Linked DNA regions of Homo sapiens: all the other regions are linked to region 3. The links are contacts of gene promoters, found by promoter capture Hi-C in human tissues and cell types (Jung and others, 2019). All regions are on one chromosome and are shown on one strand. Each heading gives the region's core, a stretch centred on a gene start or on the middle of the fragment in contact. The rest is flanking DNA. Distances are from core to core; before and after follow the strand shown. Region 1 has its middle 12 kb from the start of IPPK. Region 2 overlaps IPPK (inositol-pentakisphosphate 2-kinase). Region 3 holds the start of ZNF484 (zinc finger protein 484).

Region 1 (2,700 bases), core at 69-2,568, 200 kb before region 3:
GGTGCCAAAAACTACGGGATGCTTCCGGGGCAGGGACCATGGGGGCCCATGAGCAAGCAGGGCTGTGGGGAACTAGAACTGACCAGACCTCCCTTGGGGCCCCACTTGGCTCCAGGAAGATGCTCCTGCTAGCAGGACCAAGGAGAAGCAGAGTCCCCCAGGGATGGAAGTTAGAGGAGGTGACAGGCAGGGCTAGGCAGAGGGAAGGAAGGGGGTGCCTGGCTTAGGGCTGCTCCCTGGGGAGGCCTCTCTGCCCAGGGCAGCCTCCGTGAAGATGCCTGGGACCCAGCCCCTTGCTGAGCCTTGCTTCTCTTCCCTCTTGTAAGTTCCCACTCCAGGGGAAGTATGTCTTTCCCCAGCCCAGTGGACAACCCCAGTGAGTTCTGTCCTTGGCCTCTTTCAAGGGGAACCACCTCAAGTTAGCACTGTACAGACCCAGCCAAGCTGCTTACAATCAGCCCCAACACGCAGAAACGACTCTCAGCCCTCAGGAATGTGAACCTGCTTCACCACATTAGCAGCCAGTGAATTGTATTATAAAAATAATTAGAAAACAGCTAAAACTAGTAGGCTACAGAGTCCCTGGATTTGCTGGTCAAAGGCTTGGTTCTACAGCTCTCTGATGAGAAAAAAATGTTCCAAGCATAAACACTTGACAATAACCACTGCTGGAGAGGCCATGAGATAACAAACATCCTTCTTGTACACTGTAGAGTGTAGTCTTACCTAGTGCAATCCTTCCAGGGACAGTTTGGCAATATCTATTAAAATATAAAGTATGCAAACACCCTTTCATAGAAATTTATCCTAGATACGCCTTTGTATCAAGATAAATGCAGCTCCTTCCTCTGCGCCAGGGTTTCTCAATCTCCGCACTACTGACATTTGGACCAAAGAATTACGAGTTGTGGAAGGCATTGTTCTGGGCATTGTAGGATGCTGTGATGGTGAATTTCATGTGTTAACCTGACTGGGTGTGTCTGTGAGGGTGTTTCTGGATGAGATTAATATTTGAATTGGCAGACTGGTTGTTTTAGTCCATTTGGGCTGCTATAATAAAATACTAGACTGAGTGGTTTATAAACTACAGAAATGTGTTTTCATAGTCCTGGAGGCTAGAGAGTCCAAGATCAAGGAGCCGGCGGATTTGGCATGCGGAGAGGGCCCCTACCTCATAGAGAGCACCTTCTCACTGTGTCCCCACATAGTGGAAGGGGCAGGTGGTGGAGGGGGCAAGGTGGCTTTCTGAGGCCTCCTTTATTAGGGCACTGATCCCATTCCTGAGGCTCCTCCCCCATGACCTAATCATCTCCCTAATGCCCCCGTCTCCTAATACCATCACCTTGGGGTTGGCTTCAACATTGAATTTTGGGGGGACACAGACATTCAGACCACAGCACTGAGTGAAGCCGACAGTCCTCTACAAGGCGGACAGGCCTCATCTCTCAGTTCAAAAGCCTGAATGGAACAAAAATGCTGCTCCTCCCCTGAGTAAGAGGAAACTCCTCCTCCCTGAGGCCTTCAAACTGGGACATTGGCTTTTTCCTGTCTTTGGACTCAAAGTGAAACATCTCCTCCTCCTGGGTCTCGAGCCTGCCAGTCTCTGGCCTGGAACACACATCAGTGTCCCTGGGTCTTGCCTGCAGATCTTGGGACTCACCAGCCTCCATAGTTGCATGAGCCAAGTCCTTACAATAGATCTCTTTCTCTATAAATATCTGTAGTACTGGTTCTGTTTCTCTGGACAATCCCAACTAACACAGATGGTGAGCAGAATTCCTGGTATTCACTCACTAGATGCCAATAGCCACCCCCAGCCCCCACTTGCAACAACCAAAAATGTCTCCATACTGTCCTAGATGGCACTTGGGGGAAAATTTCCTGGGTGAGAGCCACCACTGTACACATGTTCCCAGGAGGGAAGATACAACTCCCTTGTCCAGGGCCCACATAGGGAGATCCTGCATCTTACCCTGAGTGAGGAAGATTGGGAGCTCCAATGGGCGTGGGGGCCAGATGGACAGAAGGCAGATGAGAAGTGACACAGAGAAAAGGCCGGGCCAGGCGCGGTGGCTCAAGCCTGTAATCCCAGCACTTTGGGAGGCCGAGGTGGGCGGATCATGAGGTCAGGAGATCGAGACCATCCTGGCTAATACGGTGAAATCCTGTCTCTACTAAAAATACAAAAAATTAGCCGGGCGTGGTGGTGGGCACCTGTAGTCCCAGCTACTCGGGAGGCTGAGGCAGGAGAATGGCGTGAACCCAGGAGGCAGAGCTTGCAGTGAGCCGAGATCACACCACTGCACTCCAGCCTGGGCAACATAGCGAGACTCCATCTCAAAAAAAGAAAAAAGAGAAGGGCAGCCACAGCAAAGCATGACTAGAACACTTCTGACACCCAGAGTTCTGGGGCGAACGCGATACCCACTGCACCTACAGAGAGCTATGCCAAGGCAGCCATAAAAAGGTACCCACTATAGAACTTCCTATGAGCAAAACTGGAAACCACCTCTGTGGCTGTCAGCAGGGACTGACTGGTCACCCTGCAGCGCAAGTGTGTTTCGGGGGGACACTCTGCAGCCATTCATAGAAAAGAGGGAGACCCTCCAGAGCAGTAAGCAAAACCTCCAGGTGCAAGACAACGTGTAGAGTATGGTGCCTTCTGGGCCAGGAGTGGTGGTTCACTCCTGTAATCCCAAC
Region 2 (2,868 bases), core at 24-2,523, 220 kb before region 3:
AGATCAAGGTCTTGACCCCAAAGGTCAAGGTCATGTGGGGTGAAGCCAAGTTTAGAGGAGGGCCTGGACCCTGGGAGGTTCTCAGCGTCTTTCTGGTGGCCAGGCTCCTCGCTGCTACTGAGTCACCAGCAGGCTCTGGGGGCATTGGGTACTGTGCTGCCCCCCAGGAGAGGATATGGACACAGGCCTTCCAAGCCTGGGCAGAGAAGCCCAAAGTGGCCCTCCCACTCGGCCCTCCCAGCCCCTTCCTCACATTTCCTCCACCACCACATCCAAACACAGTGGCTTGGCCTCCCTGCTGTCACTCACAGGAAATCTCCTGCTATCCCTTCCCATTATGGAGCCCAAGAGCCACAACCAACCAAGGAAACCTGAATACAGTGATTTGTCCATTTCAAGGGAAACTGCTTTCTCCACCCACCCATTTATCATCCAAAAACTATTACAAGAAACCTACCCCCAGGGGAACCGTAGTCTCAGCCAGTTTTCATCAATACCAAAACTCAGACACACTCAGCTCACCTATTCTCTACAGCCCATGCCAACTGCCCCATGTGAGGGACCTGATCAGGCTGGGCTGGCCGAGGTGGGTGGTCCCCAAGATGTGCCAGGCTGAGGGCTTCGTAATGCATAGGCCACAGGGCCCCATTACCCTCATGCAGGCAGCTGGCAGGAAACAGGTGAAAAAACACTGTAGCAGCTCTCATTAGCAGAAAGACACAATGAGTCCAAGGGGCACCCATGGCTGGGGAAGAGGGGGTCAACACAGCCACCTGGGGGACTTCACATGAAGGAGTGAGCAAGAACCAACACCCCAGCAGGCTCCGAGCTCCTGCCAGCTCACCAGGTCTTAACCAGCTATGGAGATAATGACACTACTCCTCTTAAAAAAAGTATCTGAAACCAGATATTTGAAACTTACCTTCTTCTTAACGTCTAGAATAAAATGTTAAAAGTGAAGAAAAAGGGCCAGGCGCGGTGGCTCATGCCTGTAATCCCAGCACTTTGGGAGGCCCAGGCGCGCAGATCAGCTGAGGTCGGGAGTTCGAGACCAGCCCGACCAACATGGAGAAAACCTGTCTCTACTAAAAAACACAAAATTAGCCCGGCGTGGTGGCACATGACTGTAATCCTAGCTACTCGGGAGGCTGAGGCAGAATCACTTGAACCCAGGAGGCAGAGATTGCGGTGAGCCGAGATTGTACCATTGCACTCCAGCCTGGGCAACAAGAGCGAAACTCCGTCTCAAAAAAAAAAAAAGTGAAGAAAAAGAGTTAAGATTGGAAGGGAAGAACTTGATACTTCTGCAGTCTGAGGGCTGGGGTGTTTCTTAACAAAAGCAACGCTAAACCAAGGCCCAAGCCACACCTTTATGTCTTGGTAACAGGGAAGCTTCCACCTTGGAAAATTAGATGAAAATCAAGGATTCTAACAAGCCAAAAACACCAAACAACAGGAAGAACAAGAGGAGTGATGCATTTATACACACACACTAAATAACCCCAAGATTTAAAAGGTTAAGGGACACAACTCGTCACTTACAAAAGTGGCAAAAAGCATTTCAATAAAAATCCCTTTCTGGGCTGCAGCGGAAGGGTAGGTGGCACAGCCATGTGGAAAGCGATCTGCAACGTGTGCCAAGGGGCCTAATTCACCCAAGAACCCAGCCTGAGCATCAGAAGTCCAAAGAAGTGTGTACGAAGACTTTCGGCAAAGCCCACCCACAAGGATGTCCAACGCAACACTGGGAACACGTGAGCACCCTTCAAGACATGCATGAGGATTTTCTACATATTTGTGCTATAAAATTAAGTGAAAAAAAATCCCAAAACAGAAACAGATACGTAGTGTTGTTAACTACCCAATAAAGACAAAATACAGTCATGCATCACATAACAACACTTGGGTCAGTGATGGACTGCATGAAACAATGGTGTGTCCCATAGGATTATAATACCACAGTTTCTACCTTTAGATAACAAACACTTCCCATTGTGTCCCAATGGCCTGCAGTACTCAGTCCAGAACCATGCTGCGCGGGTCTGAGGACTAGGAGCCATAGGCTGCCCCACACAGCCTGGGCATGGGGCAGGCTCTACCATCTAGGTGTGTTCATATGGCAACAACATCACCTAACAATGCAGCTCTCAAAATGCATCCCTGGTGTTAAGCGATGCTTGACAATAAATAGAAAAAGACTAGAAGAAAGTGCACCAAAGTGTTAACAAAACTTGTTCTCTTCATGGAGAAATATTGGATGTTTTTCACTTCCTTCCTTCTGATATTCTATATTTTCAGAGAGAAGAAGCAACAATTGGTGTTAAATAAAAATAGAAGGCCACAAAAACCCCAATACATTAAAAGGGACACCTGCCAATGGGAAGCCTGAGGGGGCACCTTATGGGTGGAATTAAAGCTACTAACTACAAGAGCCTTTCAGGACAGATGAGGAGAGACTTTCCCGCCACCCACAGAGGACTCACTCTGGAGGGGTATCACCCACAAAATCAGCTGTTCCAGAGATCTGTCAAAAGACAAGGACCAAGGTCAAGTCTTCCATCAGGCTGAGGAGATAACCTGAAGCTGAGATCAGACAACTTTCATGGGAAGGGAAGACAGAAAAAGACAACAGCAGCAGGGGTCACCCCTCAGGATGCCTTCTAGAAGCAATGCTCAGCTCCAGCTTCTTCCGAATTGTGAAGATGACTCCCAGGCAGGGGCCATGGGGGATCCCAAATGTCCAGTCTCAAGAGGCTGCCCTCCCTGTAGACCCTCCTTAGCTTACCCCCGCAGCTCCAGCTCCAGCTCTGTCCCAGCCAGAGAAGGCTGCCCGGGGTCTGTCAGTCACCAGGGGCAGGAGGTGCCGAA
Region 3 (2,700 bases), core at 104-2,603:
AAAAGGATAAAAAATGCACTAACCATTAAGTGTATGTATGCCCATCCCTCAGATGCACAAATAAAATTAGCAAAAAAGCACATATAACTGCAAAATGAACTATTAAAAGTGATTTTTATTGTATCTCCTCCAGAATATGAAACAAGTAGATCAAAATTAGGAAAGATAAAGATTTGAAAAATACCAACAAGCAAGACTTAATTAAAGAGAATTTTGGTCCATACAACAAAATATAATTTTTCTTTTATATCTGTTGAACAAAGTTCATTGAGTAACTTGGCTTCAAGGAAAATCTTGATAAATTGTTAAAAGTTGAGACTTGATAGTCTGCATTTTCTGACAATACAATAAAATAAAAAACAGCTAAAACATACTTTAATAATTTGGGAATGAATAAACTCTCCTAAATAACTAAGATTCAAAGGGAAACATCAAAATGAACTTATGCATTTCATAAAGATGTACTTAAAGAAACTTTACAACCCTAAATGTATCCCGCATAAAACTTAAGAAAATAAGGGAAAGAACAACAAATTACATCAAAAAGTGGGAAAAAGAGAAAGTACCTAAAAAGAAAAAGAGAAAAAAATTAATATTAAAAGAGTAGGGAGTATTTTATTGGACATTTCAAAATGTCCAATGAAACAGATAAACCTTTCAGACGCTTGATTCTTTTTAAATAGAGAAAGAATGAATGATATATAAATATAATAACCGTAATGATAAAGGAGCTACTAGTCTGGATATGAAAGAGAACAAAATGGAAATGGAAACATGCAATTCTATGTAATATATTCTTTAAATCTTTAGCAAAATATATCATTATAATGAAACAGAAACGAAAATATAAACAGATCGGTACGTATAAAAGAGAGGAAACTAATTAAGATGTGCATCATTCACACTCCTCAGATCCCTCCTTAGTTCCCATAGTCATCCTCCCCCACAACCCCACAGTCCGCCCTCACTCCGCCCTCAGATCCACCACCAGACAGAGACCCCCAGTCCGTCCTCACTCCGCCTGCAGATCCACCACCAGAGACCCCTCAGTGCCCCCTCACTCCTCCCTCAGATCCACCATCAGAGATCGCTCCGACTTCCACTATTCCATCCACTGACCGACCCCATCACTGACCGGAAGGCTCAGGACAGACATCAGAGATTCTTCTTGCTCAGTCCACAGATGCTGCCATCCCTCTACTCACCTGCCCCTCACCCACGTCCTCTCAGGACAGTGGTCATTTGCCTCGGGAGGTGACTATAGTCGCAAGAACCAGAACAGGACCCACTTCCTTTTTCTCAATGCCTCCCAGGCCTAGAGGTACTTCTTACAGCGCTGCCTGGGTTTGCGCATGCTCAGCAGTCTTCATGGCCTGAAGGTTGCCAGTAATCAACATGGCGCTTTGCCAAACACGCTCCCGTTTCAGCGGCTTAGGCTGGGCGCCAGTATGGCGGCGCCCATGTAGACACTCTGGCCTGTGGGCGGCCATGTTGAGGTCATGTAGAGACTGAGAGGCTGAGGGTTGTCCAAAGGAAAGGAAGCAAGCAGAGGTGTGTCCCATCATACTAAGCCAGGACACAATCAAAGCCTATCACCTCAGGTTACAGTCTTTCTCCAATGCTTCTGTGGACACAACAACACTGTTAATCAACAGGAACTAATCAGCATTTATGTAACACCGCAAACGCAGCCGAATACACATTTTATTCGTGTCGATGGGACATTTAGCAAGATATGAAGTAACCTGGGTCATAAAACAAATCTCAGCAAATTTGAAACAACTGAAATCATACAGTTTGTTCTCTGAACACAATAGAATTAAACTAGAAATCAATAACAGGAAGATAAAAGGAAAATCTCCAAACACGTGAAAACACATGCTAAATAATCCATTGTTCAGAGAGAAAGTCTCAAATTTTTAAAATACATTGAAATGAATGAAAGTGAAAGTGAATGAATTTTTAAAATACATTGAAATGAATGACAGTGAAACACAACATATCAAAATTTGTGGGATGTGGCTAAATCAGTGGTGAGAGAAAAATGTATATACCACTAAGGGCTTACATTAGAAAAGAAAAAAATTTCAAAGCAATAACCAAGCTCCCTCACATACTAGAAAAAGAAGAGCAAAATAAACCGAAGGCAAGTGAAAGAAAGGAAATAATAAGGATAAGAAGATGACTCAATAAAATGTAAAAAGAAAAATAGAGAAAAACCGATTAAACAAAAGCTGGTTCTGTAAATGTTAATAAAATTGACAAATCTGTAGAGGAGACACAAAATATCAATATCCAGAATGAAACAGGAGATACCACTGTAGACCATGACGAAATCAAAAGAATAAAGAGAATACTACAAACAACTCTACAAACATAAATTTCACAACATAGATGAAATGCACTAATTCTTGAAAAAGCACAAATTCTCTCTTACATGAAATAGTTATGTTGAATAGCCCTAGAACTGAAGTCATAATTTGAAATATCTGAAAAAGAAATCTTAAGGCCTGGATAGCTAGATCAGAGAATTCTAACAAACATTTAAAGGTTAACACGAATTATATCCAGTCTCTTCCAGAATAAAAAAAGAATAGAAAGAAGACAATAGAAAGATATTCCAACTCATGAGGCCAGTGTTACTCTGATATCAGAGCTAAAGACAGAAGAAGAAGAAATCAGTATTCTTCATGAATATAG

Evidence for each region. Contacts are between HindIII fragments. The study calls those that stand out against the background at their distance.
Region 1: a contact is called between a fragment that was not itself captured here and the fragment with the promoter of ZNF484 in region 3, in 1 of the 25 tissues and cell types used here (dorsolateral prefrontal cortex).
Region 2: a contact is called between a fragment that was not itself captured here and the fragment with the promoter of ZNF484 in region 3, in 1 of the 25 tissues and cell types used here (spleen).

The regions. Positions count from the first base shown.
Region 1 is chr9:92,680,504-92,683,203 of GRCh38, forward strand. No RefSeq gene overlaps it. Among named protein-coding and RNA genes, the nearest start is that of IPPK, 12 kb to the left of the region's middle. The HindIII fragment of the contact is 6,651 bases long and covers 1-2,700 here.
Region 2 is chr9:92,661,277-92,664,144 of GRCh38, forward strand. All of the region lies in intron 1 of IPPK (inositol-pentakisphosphate 2-kinase), which reads right to left. Among named protein-coding and RNA genes, the nearest start is that of IPPK, 7.4 kb to the right of the region's middle. The HindIII fragment of the contact is 6,326 bases long and covers 1-2,868 here.
Region 3 is chr9:92,876,685-92,879,384 of GRCh38, forward strand. ZNF484 (zinc finger protein 484) reads right to left here and starts at 1,354. Exons shown (of 5, transcript NM_031486.4): 1 at 1,206-1,354. RefSeq lists enhancers at 1,109-1,644, 1,158-1,597. The HindIII fragment of the contact is 22,413 bases long and covers 1-2,700 here.